Regions from separate parts of the Homo sapiens genome. Here region 2 is linked to region 1. The links are contacts of gene promoters, found by promoter capture Hi-C in human tissues and cell types (Jung and others, 2019). All regions are on one chromosome and are shown on one strand. Each heading gives the region's core, a stretch centred on a gene start or on the middle of the fragment in contact. The rest is flanking DNA. Distances are from core to core; before and after follow the strand shown. Region 1 holds the start of ADAR (adenosine deaminase RNA specific). Region 2 holds the start of AQP10 (aquaporin 10).

Region 1 (6,860 bases), core at 479-2,978:
GTGGTGAAACCCTGTTCTTACTAAAAATACAAAAAAAAAAAAAAAAAAAAAGCCAGGAGTGATGGCGCTCGCCTGTAATCCCAGCTACTCCGTAGGCTGAGGCAGGAGAATCGCTTGAACCCGGGGGGCAGAGGTTGCAGTGAGCCGAGATTGCGCCATTGCACTCCAGCCTGGGCAAAAAGAGCGAGACTCCGCCTCAAAAAAAAAAAAAAAAGTACCTTCCGTAGTTCTCATGCAGCGGAGGGGTTCGACTTGTAACCGGCCTGAAACCAAGCGTGGCGCAAGATTTGCTCAAGCCCCTCCTCTTGGCCAAACTTTCCGGAGGGGAAGGCTTTCCGAGGAAACGAAAGCGAAATTGAACCGGAGCCATCTTGGGCCCGGCGCGCAGACCCGCGGAGTTTCCCGTGCCGACGCCCCGGGGCCACTTCCAGTGCGGAGTAGCGGAGGCGTGGGGGCCTCGAGGGGCTGGCGCGGCCCAGCGGTCGGGCCAGGGTCGTGCCGCCGGCGGGTCGGGCCGGGCAATGCCTCGCGGGCGCAATGAATCCGCGGCAGGTAAGCCGGGCCGGCCTTGGACCTTCGCCGCCGTCTGGGTTCGTTTACAACCTCACAGGCTTTGTGTTGCAGTGCGTAGCGTGTGCGTCTTGTGAGTGTTAGAGTGTGTGTGTGTGTGTCGTCTTGCCAAGCAGCATTGCTGGTTTAGGAATTTGTGCGTCTTGTGAGTGTGTGTGTGTGGGTGTGTGTCGTCTTGCCAAGCAGCATTGCTGGTTTAGGAATTTGTGCGTCTTGTGAGAGTGTGTGTGTGTGTGTGTGCGTGTGTGTGTAGTCTTGCCAAGCAGCATTGCTGGTTTAGGAATTTGTGAATTTGTATCCTGCTCATTAATTCTGCAGAATGGAGCAGTGCGTGAAGAGGGCTTGGGGGAAAATGCGCCCCCGTCTGAGTAGGAAGGCCTGAGCCCATGTCAAGGCAGACACATCGTCTCCCTTTCTGCTAGGGCCCCTTGTGGAACCCCCTACCCCCGCTTTAGCCCCACTTGAACAACGTTCGGACTTTGAGCAGCGCACACTATCCTCAGCTCACCTTATCCACCTCCTGAAGGCCTTCTGGGAGTTAAAAATGGCACTTAAGCTGTAGGAGAAAGCTTGTTAACCACTTTATAGCTAAAAACTGGGAAAACACAAATGGCCTTCAGCAGGTTAACAGATAAACTGAAATACATCCACATAATGGGATACTGCTTAGTAGTGAAGAGGAAATACTGTTACAAGTAACAACACGGGTGACTCGCAAGTGCGTTATGCTAAGCACGAGAAGCCAGACTCAAAAGGCTGCATACTGTATGAGTCCATTTATATGACATTCTGGAAAAAAAAAACCACAGTTATAGGGATGGAAAGTGGATCCGTGGGTGCCAGGGACTGGGTATCGTGGAAGAAATTGATTGTTGAGTGGCATGAAAAAGCTTTTTAGGGAAATAGAAATGTTCTATATCTTGATTGTGGTGGCGATTGTCGAAATTCATAGATTTATACACTTAAAAGGATAAATTTTACTGTATCTAAATTATATACCTCAATTTTGTTAAGATATATATATATTTTTTTTTTTTTAAGCACTCCTTTGAAAGGATTAAGGACGCCTAACTTGAAGGAAAAGCATTTCTGCACAGGTGTCAGTGTATTGCACTGTGGAACCTGTGTGGTAAAGGCAAAGGGGGTAGTGCTTATCTCTTGATCCTAAATATGTGAGACCAGATTAAAGTGAAATCTGGGAGGCAATGAATGTTAAATGAGTTGTTATGTAATTTGCATAGAGGTGATGCTGAGAGATTTAGAAAGGATCACTGTGGGTTGCTTGCTCACTTTCTTGCTCTCCTATTCCGTAGCTTTCCAAATGGCTGTACTCAACGGTGGCTTGGTGTTTAGGGGATTTAAGGGGGGCAAAAAGAAAGATTAATAATCTCCTCCTCTCCCTCTAACCCTACTGCCCTAAGATATCCTTAGCAAACTTACATCTCCTTTCTTTTCTCTGTGTTCATTCCATTGTGCGCACACATACACATTCATGGATTTTCTCTTTTTGTTTAGGGAAAAAAATTATAATGTACATACTATTCTACAACTTTTTGTTGTTTTATTGAACATTATATGATTCCTAAATTATCCCCAGGTGAATACAAATAGATATGACACATTTTAAAAAAATAAAATAACTGGCCGGGCGTGGTAGCTCATGCCTGTAATCCCAGCACTTTGGGAGGCCGAGGAGGGCGGATCAGGAGATCGACACCATCCTGGCCAGCATGGTGAAACCCCATCTCTACTAAAAATACAAAAATTAGCTGGGTGTGGTGGCGTGCGCCTGTAATCCCAGCTACTCCGGAGGCTGAGGCAGGAGAATCACTTGAACCCGGGAGGCGGAGATTGCAGTGAGCTGAGATCACACTGCACTCCAGCCTGATTGCAGTGAGCCGAGATCATGCCACTGCACTCCAGCTTGGCAACAGAGCGAGACTCCGTCTCACAAGAAAAAAAATAACCGTGTGAGTACTATTCCATAGAATGAATGTTTCATAATTTAATTCTTCTATAGACAGACATTAAAATATTTTCCAGATTTGGGCCAAGAGTAGCAGTTTAAAAAACATTTAGCTTTTAACTGACTCTAGCCACTTTGAAACACAATTTTTTTTTCCCAAGGTCACTCAAAGAGCTAATAGGAGAACCCCTAAGTCCCATAATTCAGCTCTGGGAGCCAGCACTCACTCTGTACACACATTTGCCTCTGTCCCTAGCAATATGGTGGGCGTGAGGGTGCAGCAAGAGGAACAAGAAAGAAATGATTGCTTGCATAGTGGCGTCTTGTTCATGCAGTCATTAATTCAACAAATGTTTGTTGAGAATCAGCTTTGTGCCAAGTGCTAGAGAGGTTGAGATGATTGAAGCATAGTCCTTGACCCCCAAGAGCTCACCATGGAATCAACTGAAGCCCCTCATCAGTACTGTGTTGGGAATATTGAGAGTGGAGAGTTGAGTATAACTTATAGGACACCTAATGTTAATTACCTTTCAGACACTGCAATGTGTGTGTGCCATAAAAAAAAAAAAAATCCAGTAGCTCTGATACGAGGGAAAGTAAATGGTTTAACAGGTGCTGAGTAGGAGAAGCTCAAGGAGAGGAAACCCCAAGGGCTGAAGAAGGTGGGAGTCAGGAGTCTCCTGAAGCAAGTGGCATTTAAGGAGCTCTATAAGGAAAGGGTCAGAGTTGTGATAGGTGGCTGTGGAGGGAGATGTGCCACCTGGATTGGCATGTAGAGGGATAGAAAGATTATAGGCCTTTGCAATGGCCCAGTAAGAGGTAATGAGGGGCTGGAACTGGAAGAAAACACATTTAAGACACAGTACAGAGGTGGCAGACAAGGTGGGACTTGGCAACTACCTGATGAGATCCAGGAGATGAGGCCAGGAGGCGGGCAGCAAAGATGACGCAGGTTTCTAGCCTTAATAGGCTAGGAGGAGAGTGATGCCATTAGCAATAAGAACTACAGGAGAAGGAGCTGAGTTTGAGGGAACTATTAATTTGGTTCAGAATATGTGCTGTTTGAGTTATGGCAGGATATTTAAGTGGACAGACTGTCGACATAGTTGGAAATTCAGATCTTAAGCTCCCACACAAGGTAGTGGCTGGACATAGTAGATTTGAGTGCTCTTGCTTCAGAGGGCTAGTTTAGGTTGGGGCAGTGATTAAAGCAACCTAGGAAATAAATTATAAAGGAAGAAGAGGTCCTTAAAACCTTGGAGACTGATTATATAAAGGGTGGATCCGTTAATACAGTAGCTATTAAAAAATTATAAGGGGTGGGAAAAAGGGACAAAGAAGAAAAAAGAGGTGAAAGACCTTTGCTGTGTCACCAAACCCTGGGAGGAGAATTTTTTAAAAGAAGAGTACTCAATCCACAGTGAACTAAGGCATGTTTGTTAAACACAATTGACCACCACACAGCGAAGACCCAAATGAGGTTCAAGAGAAGGAATTTTTATGGACCCTGTTAGCACAAGTCAAGGTCCTTCTCCAGTACCACTGGGAAGCTTTGGAGAAGAAAAGGGGGACAGTGGGCCTTGGGTGGAGAAGGGAACTGACCATGAGATCCAGGTGGGGTGAGGAGGTGTGTGAAGTCAGAGTGGGGAAGAATCAGGGTGGCTTACTGGCAGCTTCACCGGGGTCATGCGAGGAGCAGGTTCCACCAGAGTAAGGAGTGAAGTTGTAGAAACACAGGGAAGTCACCATCAGAAAAGAGCAGGAGTCAAGAAACTATGGCCCACAGGTACAAACTACCTGTTTTTATAAATAAAGCTTCATGGTAAATGAATTGTAAATAAAGTTTTGCATATTGTGTGAGGCTGTTTTTGTGCTACAGTGGCAGAGCTGTCTGGCCCTTTATAGAAAAAGTTTATCAGCCACTGGAAAAGAGTTGCAGGATTTGAGGTCTTGGTGTGATGGCCTAGGTTAGAGTCATAGTGAGATTGAAGGAGTAGCTAGACAAGCCAATTGTGTGGCAGAAAGGTAGGGATGGAGATCACTGGGTTAAGGATCCTTGTAGCCAGGACACCATGAGAGTGATTGACAAGAATGCTGAAATCCCCTAAGTGTGTCAGGATGTGGAAGAGTAGAAGGCTAGAGTTATGGAAGAAAGGGTCCCACCTCTACCTGTGCAGCCTCCAGGAGAGTCTGAGGAGGGGGCGGTGAGTGTGAGTAAATGTTGTCAGAATCCCTCCTCCCAGTCTACAAGCCCCAGGGAAAGGAAGCAAGGTGTTTACTGACACCCCCAGGCTTATAAGTACTTCCTGGCTCCATCACCCTCCAGTGAACAGCCCTGGGGAGAAGACAGTACTGGTTTGCAGGTGGGTGGGTGGGGAAAGGGGTCACAGGTGCTTGGTGTTCTGGTAAATGTGCATATGAGAACATGGGGTTGCTTGTGCCCTGTCCGTCAGGGTTCAGAAGAACGTGCAGTGGAAGCAGCTATGGGGAAGTAGCTAGGGAAGGTAGGACTGGTCTGAGGTGGTGAGGAGCAGATGCTGCCAGCTCCACACATCCAGGAGAGCCTGGGTGGTTTGGGCAAAAGTCTCTGGCATCCCTTCTGAGCCTGGGTACCACACTGAAGAGTGAGGACAGTGTGCCATTTTTATCAGGAAACCCTCCAGCTCCCTGAAGACCAAATTCTGATCCTCCTGGGATGGCAGTGAAGAGCCACAGAGATGACTCTGAGGTCCCGTGGCCTTTTCCCACCTGGAGATTGTTTTCGTTACTGCGCTGTTACAGCCTTGGAGGACTGGGGTTCAGTTTCATCCAATCACATTTCTTCTTTTGTCATAGTCATCTAAACGATAGATCTTAGAGACAGGTGGGCAAGGGGTGCACTGGTGAGCCTGACTTAAGGAGAGGTCATCTCGTCCCTTCCCTAGTCCCATCTCCCTTGGTTATTGTTATTTCATGTGATTGTTCTGGTTATTTCAGGTTATTCTGTTTTTGTTTTCAAAACAATAACATATATTTGTTGTTCTGATTTTAAAGGGGTAATTGTTTTGGTAACTAGAAAATTACCTTCTCAACTCCCTTAAATTCTGTCAAAGGGAAAAGTAAGTTAGGTTGCTGGAGAGGCTATGCTGAGGCCTCAGAACCTCTGTATTCCTGGAAGTTCTGCGTGCTTTGCCTCCTGCTCCCCTCTCTGTGTTCCTGTTGGCAGGCCCCTAGGCAGGATTTAGGAGGTAGGCAAGTCACCCTAGCCAAGTCATAAGCCCATGGCTCAATTGCCTTCTCAGCCCTTCAAGGGCTGTTCCACAGGCAGCAAAGGGAGGGGCCTCCACAGGTTCACCACTGCAGCCCTAATTCATTTTCTTTTTCCACTGTCTTATTCTGCAGGGGTATTCCCTCAGCGGATACTACACCCATCCATTTCAAGGCTATGAGCACAGACAGCTCAGGTACCAGCAGCCTGGGCCAGGATCTTCCCCCAGTAGTTTCCTGCTTAAGCAAATAGAATTTCTCAAGGGGCAGCTCCCAGAAGCACCGGTGATTGGAAAGCAGACACCGTCACTGCCACCTTCCCTCCCAGGACTCCGGCCAAGGTTTCCAGTACTACTTGCCTCCAGTACCAGAGGCAGGCAAGTGGACATCAGGGGTGTCCCCAGGGGCGTGCATCTCAGAAGTCAGGGGCTCCAGAGAGGGTTCCAGCATCCTTCACCACGTGGCAGGAGTCTGCCACAGAGAGGTGTTGATTGCCTTTCCTCACATTTCCAGGAACTGAGTATCTACCAAGATCAGGAACAAAGGATCTTAAAGTTCCTGGAAGAGCTTGGGGAAGGGAAGGCCACCACAGCACATGATCTGTCTGGGAAACTTGGGACTCCGAAGAAAGAAATCAATCGAGTTTTATACTCCCTGGCAAAGAAGGGCAAGCTACAGAAAGAGGCAGGAACACCCCCTTTGTGGAAAATCGCGGTCTCCACTCAGGCTTGGAACCAGCACAGCGGAGTGGTAAGACCAGACGGTCATAGCCAAGGAGCCCCAAACTCAGACCCGAGTTTGGAACCGGAAGACAGAAACTCCACATCTGTCTCAGAAGATCTTCTTGAGCCTTTTATTGCAGTCTCAGCTCAGGCTTGGAACCAGCACAGCGGAGTGGTAAGACCAGACAGTCATAGCCAAGGATCCCCAAACTCAGACCCAGGTTTGGAACCTGAAGACAGCAACTCCACATCTGCCTTGGAAGATCCTCTTGAGTTTTTAGACATGGCCGAGATCAAGGAGAAAATCTGCGACTATCTCTTCAATGTGTCTGACTCCTCTGCCCTGAATTTGGCTA
Region 2 (6,860 bases), core at 1,184-3,683, 290 kb after region 1:
ATCCAAATATTCCATGTCATCTGGCTTTGTGCAACACAGGCAGTTGGGGATGGTGGGGAGTGCCAAGATAGACCCAACCCACACTCCACCCAGAGACTGAACAATAGGCTGGGGTGCCGAGGAACAGGACCAAAGTAGTGTCCCCAGGTCTCCCCCTCACACTTACCTGATCCAGGAAGCCATTGTTCAGGGACAGATAGGGGGCAGGATAGGTGGCAAAAATGGAGGCTGTCTCCTTGGGGCCAGTCACTGTCAGGTTCCCACCTGTATAGTTCTGTAGGGCATCTGTGGAGGAAGGGAACACCCAGGATTTCCCTCTTTGCTCATTCATCCAAAACCATTCTGAGGCACCCCTGCCCACCCACAGGTGCTCTCAAGGCACAGCTCCCTCTGTTCCCTCTGTCACCATGGTAGAGAACATAGGTGGCTCCCGAAGCACAGAAAGCAGACAGCAACTGCACCAAGATGTAAATGGGGAGCTTGACCCAGGGGAGGCGTCCAACGATGCACATGGCCAGGGAGAAGGCTGGATTCAGGTGGGCCCCTTCAAGTATCAAGGAAAGAAAAAGAGCATCTATTAAGTGTCACTGCCAGGCATTGTCACCAGACAACACTACTGCTCCTTCCTATAGCTCTTAAGGCAGATAGTGTAATTCTCATCACACAGCTTAGGAAATTGAGGCTCCAGATGTTACAGATGTTAAGTGACTTAGCAAAGTCACACTGTGGGCCAGGCACAGTGGCTCACGCCTGTAATCCCAGCACTTTGGGAGGCCGAGGCAGTGGATCACTTGAGGTCAGGAATTCCAGACCAGCCTGGCCAACATGGTGAAACCCCGTTTCCACTAAAAACACAAATATTAGCCAGGCGTGGTAGCAGGTGCCTGTAAAATCAGCTATTCGGGATGCTGAGGCAGGAGAATCGCGTGAACCCAGGGGCAGAGGTTGCAGTGAACAGACATCACACCACTGCTCTCCAGCCTGGGCAACAGAGTGAAACTCCATCTCAAAAAAAAAGAAAAAAAAAAAAAAAAAAGAAGAAGACACTGTGAATCCAAAGTTGGAACCTAGGTCTGTCTGCTTTTTCCACAGCAACACACTATGTCTCAAGGCTCCACCCAAGCACACCGATGCAGTGTGTATCTGGGGTACAAACAGGAGAGGTCCTGAGTGGAGATGAGCCCCCAGAGGACTTCAGGTGGGGGATACAAGAGGATAGCAGCTGCCCTTCGTGCCCTGCCATTGATTTCTGTCTAGGTGAGCCAAGCATTAGTGTGAGGAAGCAGGATGGAGAGATACAGAAAGAGGAGGGGCTGGTGGGGCCAAAGGCTTATTTCAGTCTGGGACACTGTTCAAGGGGATAATGTCCACGAGTCACAGAAGGATTTGCGTTTCCACCATCACCAGACAGACAAACTGGCATGCACATCCCACGTGCTCTGATGACCAGACCCCACCCTCCTCACCTGAGACGTTACCACCCACGTAGATGGCTATCGTAACGGCCAGAGAGCCAGCCAGAAACATGGTGAAGAAGTTGCCTTTGGTTTCTCCACTGGTGACAGCCTGGGCCACAGCTCCTTGGGTGAGGAGCTGCTGAGAAGAGGAGAGATGAGGAACAGGGAGCCCAGGAGACCAACAGGGAGAAAGGTTGGGAAGGCCAGGGGAGCAGCCAAGGAGATGAATGAGCACAGAAGACAAGCAAGGGAAGGAGAAAAGCAGAAGGAGGGAAGGGAAAAGAAATGGGGAAAGTGGAGGAAGAAGAAAGGGAAAGAATGTGGGAAAAAAGAAAAGAATTTACCCAACTCATAGGCATTTGAGGGTACAAACCCATGGCAGGGCTCAGCTTTAAAAAGTCTTATCTAAGATTCTTTCTATGGAAGAGTTCCATCAAAGCCAATTTTAAAAGCCTATGTGAAAAATAATTATTCTTGCTGCACTTTATACAATCATCAGGCCAAGTATAATAAAGCACATTGGTCTTACCATGAAAATGGTCTTTCATAAAAATGGGAAACTGAAGAGAGAAAAATTATGTTTCAAGAACTATGATACACTTGTTATTAAAGAAAGAATAAAAATGACAAGAATAAAAATGATGAAGTAGGAGAGGAAAGGAGATTAGGAGAGACGAGAGGATAAAAACGAAAAGTGATAGGGAGTTGAGAGGAAGGGGGACACCAAGAGAAAGAGATAAGGACAACAGAAGGAGCCAGGAACTTTTGCCCAACCCCCTTCTTTCCTTCCCGCAGTGATCCTACCTACCATGAGTACAAACACACCCAGAAACTCTGCCAGGCACTGCCGGGCCAGGAGGCTGCGTATCCGGAGGTGGCCCATGATTTCAGCCGGGGCCTGAGTGAAGACCATGGTGGAAACACCCTATTGCTATTCACTGCTCCCTCTGTCTGCATAGGCACACTGTCACTGCACAGCTACTGCCTGCCTCCAGCAAAGATAAGGAACAGACTTTAAAACCATTAGCTCAGTTCCTGAACAGCAGCTACGTGTCTGTGCACGTGTGTAGGCTAGGAAACAGAGAGATAACAAGAGAATGTCTGGGAGCAGGCTATGAACACAGAGCCTGGAGTTTACCCAACCTCTGTCTCTTTTACCCTTCATTCCCAGTCATCACAGGACTAGCCTCCCCCATCCTGACAAATAGAAGGAAGTACCCCGCTTCATAGACATTAGATCTCTTGGTCCTGAAGTCAGCTCTGCAAAGTAGTACTATTGCTTCCATTCTACAGATGAGGCTAGTGGGCCTTAGAACTCCCCAAGATCAAACTTTTTTTTTTTTTTTTTCTGAGAGAGAGTCTTGCTCTGTCCCCCAGGCTGGAGTGCAGTGGCACCATCTCAGCTTACTGCAACCTCCACCTCCCAGGTTCAAGCAATTCTCCTGCCTCAGCCTCCCAAGTAGATGGGACTACAGGTCCATCACACCTGGCTAATTTTGATATTTTTTAGTAAAGACTTGGTTTCTCGGGAGGCCGAGGCAGGCAGATCACGAGGTCAGGAGATCAAGACTATCCTGGCCAACATGGTGAAACTCCATCTCTACTAAAATACAAAAAAATTAGCGTGGTGGTGCACGCCTGTAGTCCCAGCTACTCGGGAGGCTGAGGCAGGGGAATCACTTGAACCAGGGAGGCGGAGGTTGCAGTGAGCCGAGATTGTGCCACTGCACTCCAGCCTGGCAACAGAGCGAGACTTTGTCTCAAAAAAAAAAAAAAAAAAAAAGACGGGGTTTCACCATGTTGGCCAGGCTGGTCTCAAACTCCTGACCTCTAGTGATTCACCTTCCTTGGCCTCCCAAAGTGCTGGGATTACAAGCGTGAGCCACCGTGCCCGGCCCAAGATCACACAATTATTTCATGGCTGAGTGAATTCAAATCCAGATTTTCTGACTCTCCAGCTGGTAACCCACAAAGCCTCTCATTTAGAACCTGAAGCCTTACCCCAAACCATTTGGATGCTTGAAGAACTCAATAGGCATCTGGAAAGACTGGGCTAAAGACCACAGACTGTGGGAATGAAACTCACATATTGAGTGCTTGTACTTCCCTTATGCCGAGTGTCACATAGGTTAGAGAATACTCCATCTTTGTGTCCCCTGACATGGCTTGACATGAGGCCTTCACACTCATGCTGAGCTCCACCTGGCCTTCTCTGGGTGCATGCCACTCTTGCTCTGCATGAAGTAACCGCATCCTACTTCTTCATATCTCAAGGCTCCAATTAAATGCATTCAAAGAATCTACGTCTAGACACTGGAGAAACAGTGGTGAACAAAACATAGTCTCTGCCCTCCTAGAGCTTATGTTCTAGTAGGTGGAAACAGACAATATGCAACTTTTTAAAATACCATATACAGTTTATGAAGTTCTTGAGGGCTACCATTATGATTTATGTAACCCTGTGGGCTCTACCACTGTCCTGGGCACATCTGTGTGACTAGTAAAGAAATAATATTTCTTTACTAGGTTTAATGGATACTATAGTGCTCCACCCAGATTCCCCCTTGGGAGCCAATATGCCCATTCGCTACATGTAGGAAATACCAGCTGCTGATACCACATAGCTACCTCCCTCATTGGGCAATGCCCTTCAAGTCAGAAAGATGCCTCACCGAAGGTTACATGCCCTCCTATGGGGCCCATGTCAAACACTGATTGATGGAGGGATATAAAAGTCTAGCCTCTTTGCCTCACTTTGCGACAACTCTAAAGGGCTGTTCCAGCTCCAGTTCCCCCATAGGATCCATTTAGGCATCTGTTATATCATCCATGTGTGTCAGTTTCTCCTGGTGCCTAATCTTGTTACAGGAAAGGGGTCTGAATCCAGATCCCAAGAGAGGGTTCTTGGATCTCACACTAGAAATAATTCAGGCTGAGTGCGGCGGCTCATGCCTGTAATCCTAGCACTTTGGGAGGCCAAGGCGGGATCACAAAGTCAGGAGATTGAGACCATCCTGGCTAACATGGTGAAACCCCGTCTCCATTAAAAATACAAAAAAATTAGCCGGGCATGGTGGTGGGCGCCTGTAGTCCCAGCTACTTGGGAGGCTGAGGCAGGAGAATGGCATGAACCCGGGAGGTGGAGGTTGCAGTGAGCCGAGATCGCACCACTGCACTCCAGCCTGGGTGACAGAACGAGACTCCGCCTCAAAAAAAAGAAAAAAAGAATTCAGGGCGAGTCCATAGAGTAAAGTGAAAGCAAGTTTATTAGGAAAGTAAAGGAATAAAACAATGGCTACTCCATAGACAGAGCAGCCCCGAGGGCTGCTGGTTGCCCATGTTTATGGTTGTTTCTTGATGATATGCTAAACAAGAGGTGGATTATTCATGCCTCCCCTTTTTAGACCATATAGGGTAACTTCCTGTCATTGTCATGGCATTTATAAACTGTCATGGCATGAGCCACCATGCCCGGCCATGACCTGTATCTTATGGCAACCTCCTATCTCATTCTGTAACTTAGAATGCTTTAACCATCTGGGAATGCAGCCCAGTAAGTCTCATTCTCATTTTACTCAGCTCTTGTTCAAAATAGACTTGCTCTGGTTCACGTGCCTCTGACATTTCCCCCCTTCCTTTTATAAGAGAAGCACTAATCCTAAGGGTTGCAGAGGGACGAAGGTCCATCTTCTGTAAGTTCTTCAGGATGAATAGGGGCGATGATATTTTTGCCTAACTCTTAGAATCTCTCATATTCGTGGTAGAGAGGAGCTCAGTTGGAAAGTGTTGGTATGGGCCAGGCGGGATGGCTCATGCCTGTAATCCCAACACTTTGGGAGGCTGAGGCAGGCGGATCACCTGAGGTCAGGAGTTCAGACCAGCCTGGCCAACATGGTGCAACACTGTCTCTACTAAAAAATACAAAAAAAATAGCCAGATGTGGTGGCGGGTGCCTGTAACCCTAGCTACTCAGGAGGCTGAGGCAGGAGAATCTCTTGAACCTGGGAGGCGGAGGTTGCAGTGAGCCAAGACTGTGCCATTGCACTCCAGCCTGAAAGAATGAAACTCCATCTGAAAGAAAAGAAAAGAAGGGAAGGGAAGGGAAGGGAAGAAAAAGCATTGGTATCTTGAGGGCCATTCATAACTCATGAGTTCTGACAAAAGGTGATACTCTGGAAGATTCATAAGTGTTCAGTTTAAGGAAACATTCAGTAAGCTTGTCCTCCATTCCTATACAAAGATTACAACAGCTATACATTCCACAACCATAAAGCAAAATAAGTAAAATTATCCCAAGTAAACTAAACTAGAAGGCTTTCCATGAACTGAGGAACTGTTGGAACCACGCTGATATGAGGTTGCTAGATGATTCCAGTACATGCCCAGAATTAGAATATTGATGCAGATTTTTACATTACCCATCCCTCTTGTTTCTTCTGAGCAGCAGTCAGAGGCCACTGGTTGGTTCACAGGACTAAGCAGGGTTAGCCTAAATTGCAGAAACAAACTTAAAGACAACTGATGAGACTGGAATTTAATAACAAGTGTATCATAGTTCTTGAAACATAATTTTTCTCTCTCCAGTTTCCCATTTTTATGAAAGACCATTTTTATGGTAAGACCAATGTGCTTTATTATACTTGGCCTGATGATTGTATAAAGTGCAGCAAGAATAATTATTTTTCACGTAGGCTTTTAAAATTGGCTTTGATGGAACTCTGTTCCATAGAAAGAATCTTGGATAAGACTTTTTAAAGCTGAGCCCTGCCATGGGTTTGTGCCCTCAAATACCTTTGAGTTGGGTAAATTCTTCCTCTCCTTTTGAGGTCCCCAGATAACTTGGGGCTCCTGGACCTTTTAGAAGGTGACATTCTTTACTTACCACAGGTCAGAAACCCTGTACAGGGACTGTGTAGGCAAGGTTATGAGCCCAGGTCGCTAAGTGGCTTTTATAGGCTTTACAAGTCAAGTTTGATTCCTTAATGGAAAGCACACCATTCCAGTCAAACCCTTCATAAAATAAACAATTTCTCCAATTGTGTCCTGTTGCAAAAGAAAACAGATTCTTATTACCCTTATGCAAATAACTGCATTGCCATAAATTAAGAATACACACAAATAATTTCCAAATTCTGGAGAAATCAAGTAGAGAGATGCATATACTCCAAATTTTGTTCACAGGAGTATACTTTACTCGATTATTAAAAGCTGTAAATATCTGAAAAGAAAAGTTGCCTTGACTCTAAAAAATAAAACAAAGGATCAGCAATGTTTTAAGCAAAGGCAAAAAGATTGCTTTAGTCTTCTTTAGTTTATGCAGTTAACTTTTGTTTGATATCTATGAACATTTCAGCTCCCCATGAGAGTTCTGAAAGTTGTTTCCTCTATTCTAATGTCACAATC

The links. Contacts are between HindIII fragments. The study calls those that stand out against the background at their distance.
Region 2: a contact is called between the fragment with the promoter of AQP10 here and a fragment that was not itself captured in region 1, in 1 of the 25 tissues and cell types used here (liver).

The regions. Positions count from the first base shown.
Region 1 is chr1:154,601,684-154,608,543 of GRCh38, reverse strand. It overlaps ADAR (adenosine deaminase RNA specific), which reads left to right and starts at 358. Exons shown (of 15, transcript NM_001111.5): 1 at 358-552; 2 at 5,918-6,860. The coding sequence starts at 538. RefSeq lists an enhancer at 85-474 and a silencer at 475-584. The HindIII fragment of the contact is 4,982 bases long and covers 1-4,219 here.
Region 2 is chr1:154,316,666-154,323,525 of GRCh38, reverse strand. AQP10 (aquaporin 10) reads right to left here and starts at 2,433. Exons shown (of 6, transcript NM_080429.3): 1 at 2,266-2,433; 2 at 1,467-1,593; 3 at 407-544; 4 at 167-285. The coding sequence starts at 2,370. RefSeq lists a silencer at 2,463-2,654. The HindIII fragment of the contact is 14,849 bases long and covers 1-6,860 here.